3 separate regions of the Homo sapiens genome follow, and regions 2 and 3 are each linked to region 1. Evidence: promoter capture Hi-C in human tissues and cell types (Jung and others, 2019). All regions are on one chromosome and are shown on one strand. Each heading gives the region's core, a stretch centred on a gene start or on the middle of the fragment in contact. The rest is flanking DNA. Distances are from core to core; before and after follow the strand shown.

Evidence for each region. The method cuts DNA at HindIII sites, captures the fragments that hold promoters and counts their contacts. A contact is called where the count stands out against the background at its distance.
Region 2: a contact is called between the fragment with the promoter of ZNF100 here and the fragment with the promoter of ZNF737 in region 1, in 1 of the 25 tissues and cell types used here (heart left ventricle).
Region 3: a contact is called between the fragment with the promoter of ZNF43 here and the fragment with the promoter of ZNF737 in region 1, in 1 of the 25 tissues and cell types used here (hippocampus).

The regions. Positions count from the first base shown.
Region 1 is chr19:20,564,529-20,567,229 of GRCh38, forward strand. ZNF737 (zinc finger protein 737) reads right to left here and starts at 1,253. Exons shown (of 4, transcript NM_001159293.2): 1 at 1,110-1,253. The coding sequence starts at 1,112. The region is part of intron 2 of LOC105372316 (a long non-coding RNA gene); the gene reads left to right. RefSeq lists enhancers at 686-845, 1,056-1,105. The HindIII fragment of the contact is 4,540 bases long and covers 1-2,701 here.
Region 2 is chr19:21,766,263-21,768,962 of GRCh38, forward strand. ZNF100 (zinc finger protein 100) reads right to left here and starts at 1,317. Exons shown (of 5, transcript NM_173531.4): 1 at 1,165-1,317. The coding sequence starts at 1,167. RefSeq lists a silencer at 1,304-1,481. The HindIII fragment of the contact is 21,319 bases long and covers 1-2,700 here.
Region 3 is chr19:21,834,689-21,837,448 of GRCh38, forward strand. It overlaps ZNF43 (zinc finger protein 43), which reads right to left and starts at 1,494. Exons shown (of 4, transcript NM_003423.4): 1 at 1,348-1,494. The coding sequence starts at 1,350. RefSeq lists enhancers at 585-1,558, 1,088-1,177, 1,218-1,267, 1,288-1,447, 1,559-2,531. The HindIII fragment of the contact is 27,139 bases long and covers 1-2,760 here.

The DNA of each region.
Region 1 (2,701 bases), core at 3-2,502:
CATAGCCCCAACTACTCCAGAGGCTGAAGCAGAAGAATGCTTGAACCTGAGAGGCGGAGGTTGCAGTGAGCCGAGATCTGACACTGCACTCCAGCTCTGGCGACAGAGCGAGACTCCGTCTCAAAAAAAAAAAAATAAAAATAATAAATTGAGGAACATGGGGTACACTTGAGGCCTTGCTTGAGACACATGTGGAAAATGCCAGGGAAAATCAGTCCGCTGTGGCGTGTGAAAATAATTAAGTGGCAGGCAATTAGACTGAAGAAGCTCTAGTCCCTGGATTTCTACCTCAAAAAAAAAAAAATCTAAGCTCATGTGCATTTTTTGGGAAATTACTACATTAGGGGAAACAAAATTCAGGCTTAAGCAACTATAAACTGCCAATTAAACTGTAATTACATAACCAGGAATTTTTTTTTTTTTTTTGAGACGGAGTCTCACTGTCGCGCAGGCTGGAGTGCAGTGGCAAGATCTCAGCTCACTGCAACATCCACCTCCGGAGTTCAAGCGATTCTCTCACTTCTGCCTCCCGAGAAGCTGTGATTACAGACATCTGTCATCACACCCAGCTAATTTTTGCATTTTTAGTAGACATGGGGTTTCCCCATTTGGGCCAGGCTTATCTTGAAGTCCTGACCTCAAGTTATCCGCCTGCCTCGGCCTCCCAAAGTGCTGGGATTACAGGCGTGAACGACTGCGCCCGGCCCCATAAATTTTGAATAGCAGAAAACAGAAACTGTGAACTCCACGGACCAAAGCTCTTCCCATTCATGAACCTGCACCCCGAGTCAGGATTCTCCCCTGACGACCCTCTGGTGGTCCCTGCACATTCTGGGAGAGACGGGAGGCTGCGGTTGCAGAGCTGCCCACGGAGCGCTCCAGGCCAGAGCAGTCACTACGCAGGGAAGACACAGGACGCCAGGGGGCCCGGCTGTCAGCGTAGCCGCCAAATTATGGCTGAACGGGACTGAGGCCGAGCTGGGCAAGGAGAACTCAGGGTGCAGATTGTGGAGCTGACTGCGCAGAGGCCTGAGTCCCGCCACAGCCACTTCCCACCGGTTCCAACCAGCCTATCCCCCTCTCTCGGGATGTCGGACCGGCACTCTCACCATTTCTAGGCTTCCAGGGGCTCCCGGGCGTCTTAGCTGTGGATCTCCCAATACCTGCAGGACACAGGGCCACAGAGGCTGGGCCTCTAGGAGCAGAGGACACACAGCAGTGAAGACAAGACCTGGAGCTCCGGCTGCAGAGACAAAGGCCCCGCAAAACCCGGAAGCCTTCCGCTTCACTCTGGCTGCGTGCCTGATTGGACGGCTTCCAGCCCAGCGTCCCTGATTGGATAATGCTTAAATCCCCGCCCCCTCAGGCCCTGAGTGACAGAAGATATGATCAGATGCTGGGTTAAGTGAACAAAGAGTGCCAGCCTAAGCAGCTGGCTTTTCAAACAGTGCTTCCTCCCTGAGCTGAGCCAGGCCCACCCCAGAGCATGGGAATATTTTATCTCTTGTTTACTCTCTTTCTTGTTGAATGTATTAAAAAGGTGAACAGAAGTATTTTGCTGTCATTAATAATACATAAAATTTTTGTTCAACAGAAAATCAACTTTTACTTTGGTAATGGTAAAATCTATTAAAGCTAATTTTAATAAAACCTTATAAATAAATCAAATTTGTCATTTTTGAGCACTCCAGATTTACATATATATTTTGTAATATCTCGTAATTTTAAAAAACTATTTATATTTTATTTTTGTCCACATTCTTTTTATTTTTTCAATTTGAAACAATCTTTAATTTCCAACAGCTATAGGAGATAGAAATCATTTAGAGGCAGGCACGGATAGTTCACGCTGGTAATTCCAACACTTTGGGAGGCCAAGGTGAGCAGATCACTTGAGGTCAGGAGTTCAAGACAAGCCTAGCCAACATGGTGAAACCCCATCTCTAATAATAACTAATAAATAATAATAATAACTAATAATATAAAAAGTTACCTGGGTGTGGGGGTGCACATCTGTAGTCCCAGCTACACCGGAGGCTGAGGCAGGAGAATCACTTGAAGCCAGGAGGCGGAGGTTGTGTAACAGCCCAAGGGGTTTATTTTACCCTTTGCCTAGACAGAGCCGATTCATCAAGACAGGGGAATTTGTGGAGGAAAAGTCACATATTAAATCTGAACTCAATTGAATGTGGACACAAACAATTGTCACCAAGTCCCAGAACAGGTTGTGTGAGCCCCTGAGGTGTTCATCCAGCGCTGTATTGAAGAAATCTCTATTTCAATCTATTCCTATATATTAGTTGTTGAAAAACAATAGACAATCACAAAAAAAGGTTGACCTTTTTGTGTTCCTTGAGGCAAGTCGTGAAGGGCTCTCATCACTGGGCCTTATGCCAAACAACTCGTTACAAAAGAGCTAAGGTCCCAGACCGCCCTGAAGCTTCATAAGACCTCTCCTTGTCTGTGTACGATGGACGGGTGGCTGACTCTAGAGCTGTGGCTGTTGCCTCCCTCTCTGGTGGTGAATCCCCCATAGTCTGGTGAGGGAAAATATATATATATATATATATATATATATATATATATCTTTTCCCATTTCCTCGTCTTATTAAGATTGGCTTATTACATCAATCTGCTTATTATATTTATTTGCTTATTATATCATTTGCTTATTATATTATTACTTTATTATGTCTGCATT
Region 2 (2,700 bases), core at 67-2,566, 1.2 Mb after region 1:
GAGGCTGGAGAAATGGGGGACGGGGGTTAGACTTAACAACCTGCTTGGGACACAGGTGAAAAATGCAGCAGAAAATCAGTTCCCCGTGGAGTGTGAAAATAATTAAGAGACAGGCAATTCCACTGAGGTGTCTCTAGTCCCTGGGTTCCTACTTAAAAAAAAAAAAAATCTAACTCAGGTGCATTTTTTTTTTAATTACTACATTCAGAGAAAATGTAGGCTTAAACAACTATAAACTGTTAATTAACCTCTGATTACACAACCAGGAAATCTTCACCTGTATTGTACAAATCAAGAAACTACGTTACTGTAACCAATTACTAAATTTAGTTTTCTTCATCATACATTTTATAAATGACTTTCCTTCAAGCCTCTCCCATAGACAACAAACTACAAACCATAGCTGGATACTCTATGATTCTTGAATCACTGTTTGATTAAATTCTTTAGGCCAGGCGCGGTGGCTCACGCCTGTAATCCCAGCACTTTAGGAGGCCAAGGCGGGCGGATCACGAGGTCAGGAGTTCAAGACCAGCCTGGCCAACGAGGTGAAACCCCGTCCCAACTAAAAATACAAAAAAATAAGGCCGGCCCAGTGACAGGCGCCTGTAATCCCAGTTACTCGGGAGGCTGAGCCAGGAGAATCTCCAGAACCCGGGAGGCGGAGGTTGCAGTGAGGGGAGATCGCGCCACTAAACCCTAGCCTGGGCGACAGAGCGACTCCGTCTCAAACAAACAAAAAAATCGTTAATATTTGTGCAGTGACTCCCATACATTTTTAATAGGAGAAAAGAGGAACTGGGAAAGCCACGGACCAAAGATCTTCCCATTCATGAACCCGCACCCCGAGTCAGGATTTTCCCCTGACGACCCTCCCGTGGTCCCTGCACAATCTGAGAGAGACGCGGCGCTGCGGGTGCAGAGCTGCCAAGAGAGGGCTCCAGGCCAAGGCACAGTCACTACGCAGGGAAGAGAAAGGACGCCTGGGGTCCTGGCTGTCAGCGCAGCCGCCATCTTATGGCCGAAGGGGACGGAGGCCGAGCTGGGCAAGGCGCAGATTGTGAAGCTGACTGCGGAGAGGCCTGAGTCCCGCCACAGCTACTTCCCACCAGTTCCAACCAGCCCTTTCGCCGTCTCTCGGGATGTCGGACCGGGCACTCTCACCATTTCTAGGCTTCTAGGGGGTCCTGGCGTCTTAGCTGTGGATCTCCCAATATCTGCAGGTCAGAGGGCCACACAGGCTAGGCCCCTAGGAGCAGAAGACACAGAGAAGTGAGAGCAAAACCTGGAGCTCCGGCTACAGCGAGAGACAAAGACCCCGCCAAACCCGGAAGCCGTCCAGTCCGCTCCAGCTGCATGCCTGATTGGACGGTTTCCAGCCCAGCGTCCCTGGTTGGATAATGCTTAAATCCCCGCCCTGTCAGGCTTTGAGTGACAGAAGATGTGATCAGATGCGGGTTCAATGAAGAAAGAGTGACAGCCTAGACTGCCCCCTCTTCTGACAGGGCTTCCTCCCTCAGCTGAGCTAGGCCCATCCCAGAGAGTATTTGCCTTTAAATTTGTGTATAAGGTCATATGTATAAATAAATAATACATTATATAGCTATACACAAGTGAAAAGAATATAACAATTATTTTAAAATTTCAGCTTTTATGACCTTCCTGGCTTCTGGCCCTTTGAGCAGGCAGCCTGAGATTTTAGAAAAGAGAAAATCATCTAAAATGAATGTCAGCCACATGTGGATTTGAAATTTTCTAGTAGCCAAACTTTAAAAAGAAACAAGTTGAACTGATTGTTAACAATGTAATTCACCCATTATATTCAAAATATTATCATTTTAATGTGTGAGAAATATGTAATTATTGATAAAATATATAAATATTTGGAACTAAATCTTTGAAGCTGACTTTGTATTTTACCTTTCTAGCATATCGCATTTCAGACCAGGCACATTGTGGGAACCCAGTAGCCACACATGGACAATAGCTGTCACATTGAAGTGCAGCTCTGATGTCAGCGGTGTGAAGGGCCTGAACATCTCTTTCCTGCGAGAGTGAAAGAAGAGACTCTCCCTACAAACATCTCTCTTTGGTTCCTAGGGTGGACCAGATAGTTCCCATAGAAAGAGCTGAGGGCAGTAGGAATAAAATAGCCACAGGTAATAAACAACTGCTGGCCACCTGTTGCCCACCTTTCTTTTAGAGACCAGATAGTGAACAAAGGATGATGGGGCCACAGGAGAAAAAACAACTATGTCTTCAGTTCTGTCCACACACTTGAACTCCAGTATTTAGAGATGGAGAAAATAGATTAAAAACAAACATAGTTTGCTATATGGTCTTGGCCCTAACAATCAGGCTGTGTTTATCTGTTTTCTCCTGTGGTGTGGGGGACTATGTGAGTCTAAGCACCAATCACACGCATACATGTCTACAGGTATTTCTGCATTACCCAAAATTCTCTTACAAAACATCGAACTTTAAATCAGGGGAAGAAATCAGTACCTAGAGGGTGTCCACTGTTAGAAGCCAACTCTTAGTCAACCTGTCACTGAATCCTGGCAACTTATCTGTACTGGGTGCATGTATTAGTTAGCTATTGAGGCATAACAAATCATCCAAAACTTATTAGTTTATAATTGAAATGGTTGGCCATTTAGGCCGAGCTGAGTGGGGCCATTCTTCTGGTCTCAGCTGAGC
Region 3 (2,760 bases), core at 244-2,743, 1.3 Mb after region 1:
GTTGCAATGAGCTGAGATTGCACCATTGCACTCCAGCCTGGGAAACAAAGCGAGAGGAAGGATGGAAGCAAGGATGGAAAGATGGAAGGAAGGAAGGAAGGAAGGAAAGAAAGAAGAAGGAAAGAAGAAAGGAAAATTTATTTAAGTCCATCCAATGATTTTTCAAAAAATAATTAAAATATCTGTATCAAAAATATACAGATATCTAAAATATCTTTATCTAAAACGTATCTCTGTATCTAAAATGTACACTAAAAAAAAAAAAAAAATAGCCCGGCTCGGTGGCTATTTTTAAGTGCTGTAATCCTAGCACTTTGGGAGGCTGAGGCGGGTGGATCATCTGAGCTCAGGAGTTCGAGACCACCTGGCCAATATAGTGAAATCCCGTCTTTACTAAAAATACAAAAAAAATTAGCTGGGTGTGGTGGCAGGCACCTGTAATCCCAGCTACTAAGGAGGCTGAGGCAAGAAAATCGCTTGAATCCGGGAGACGGAGGTTGCAGGGAGCCGAGATAGCACCATTGCACTCCAGCCTGGGCAGCAAAAGCGAAAGTCCATCTCAAAAAAAAAAAAAAAAAGAAAAAAAAGAAAAAATAGTTGATAACGTGAATTGCGGAGAAGAAGGTGGCATTTGGGAATGTCAGAAATAAAGGAAAATCTAGTTTAGTTTTTTTTTTTTTTTTTTTCCAGAGGGAGTTTCACTCTGTGGCCCAGGCTGGAGTGCAATGGCGCGATCTCGGCTCACTGCATCCTCCGCCTCCTGGGTTCAAGCGATTTTCCTGTCTCAGCCTCCCTAGTAGCTGCGATTACAGGCGCGCGCCACCACGCCCAGCTAATTTTTGTATTTTTAGTATAGACGGGGTTCACCATATTAGCCAGGCTGCTCTCGAACTCCTCACCTCGTCATCCACCCACCTCGACCTCCCAAAGTGCTGGGATTAAAGGCGTGACCCACCGCGCCCGGCCGACTCTCCTGTTTCTAATAGACCAAAAGAGGGACTAGAAATGCCACGGACCAAAGCTCTTCCTATTCATGAAACTGCATCACGAGTCAGGATTCTCTCCTGACGACCCTCCTGTGGCCCCTGCACAATTTGGGAGAGACGCCGCGTTGCGGCTGCAGAGCTGCCCACAGAGGGCTGCAGGCCGGGACACAGTCACTGCGCAGAGAAGAGACAGGACGCCCGGGGCTGCCTCCCAGAGCAGCCGCCATCTTATGGCTGAAGGGGATTGAGGCCGAGCTGGGCAAGAACTCCGGCACGCGCAGATTGTGGAGCTGACTGCGGGAAGGCCTGAGTCACGCCACAGCCCCTTCCCCCTCTCGGGATGTCGGACCGGCACTCTCACCATTTCTAGGCTTCCGGGGGGTCCTGGCGTCTTAGCTGTGGATCCCCCAATACCCGCAGGTCACAGAGCCACAGAGGCTGGACCTCTAGCAGCAGAGGACACAGAAGAACGAAGACGAGACGCAGAGCTCCAACTGCAGCCAGAGACAAAGGCCCCGCCACATCCCGGAAGCCGCCCTGTCCTCTCCTGCCCCGTGCCTGATTGGACGGTTTCCAGCCCAGCGTCCCTGATTGGATAACTTCTAAGGTCCTGCCCCCGCAAACCCTGAATGAAAGATGTGATCAGACGCTGGGCTGAAAGAAGAAAGAATGACAGCCTAGGCTGCCGCCTTTTCAGGCAGGGCTTCCTCCCTGAGCAGAGCAGGCCCAACCCAGAGGGTATTTGCCTTTAACCTTGTGTATAAGGTCATCTTCACTTATAAGTAATATACTATATGGATACTAAAAAATGAAAACAATTGTTTTTGAATTTCAGCTTTTATGACCTTCCTGGCTTCTGGCCCTTTGAGTAGGAAGTATTACAAACATTGAATATTTTATTATTTATCCTCTGTGGGGTTTTTCTTATTCTTGAGAGGGAGTCTCTGTTACCCAGGCTGGAGTGCAGGGTCATGACTGCAGCTCACTGCAGCCTCAGCAATCTAGGCTTGAGCAATTTACCTGTCTCAGCCTTCTGAGTAGCTGGGACCACTGGCATGTGGCCCCATGCTCAGCTAATTTGTTATCATATTTTTATTTGTAGAGATGAAGCCTCACTAGATAGCCCAGAATGGTCTCAAACTCTTGGGCTCAATGAATCCTACAAAGTCAGCCTCCCAAAGTACTGGGATTATAGGCATGAACCATCACATTCAGACTGAATTATTTTATCAAAAAATTTTTTTAAAGCATTGAGGTCCATTAATAGAATTCAAGGAAATGTTATGCACATGTTTTAAAAGCAAATTAAAAAGCATATACAAAAAGAGAACATTTTTTAAAAAACTAAATATAGGTAATGTTACCAGAAAAAGTTTAGATCTCCTGACTTTAAGTTGCAGTATGCTAATGGAATATTCTTAGTGGATAGTATTCCATTTTCATAAGAAATTCAAAACAAGATAATTTCCAGGTTTTAGAAACTGATGTAAAACATAAAAATATAGAAAATCTCTAATGTGTTCCCATGATATAGTATTACTTGAAATATAAACTGGGCAAACTCAGCAAAAGACAATTTAATCTCAAATTTCAAAATAGGTACAGAAGTTCTAATGGAATAATAAATGGAATCCAGGATTTTATTCATAAAAAGGCTAAAAAGTGACCATTCTCTGTGATTTTGAAAGTAGGAATTTGTGTAAACAGATGTGTATTTGCATCTACATTTGCCTACACTTACTTTTTTTTTTTTTTTTTTTTTTTTTTTGAGACG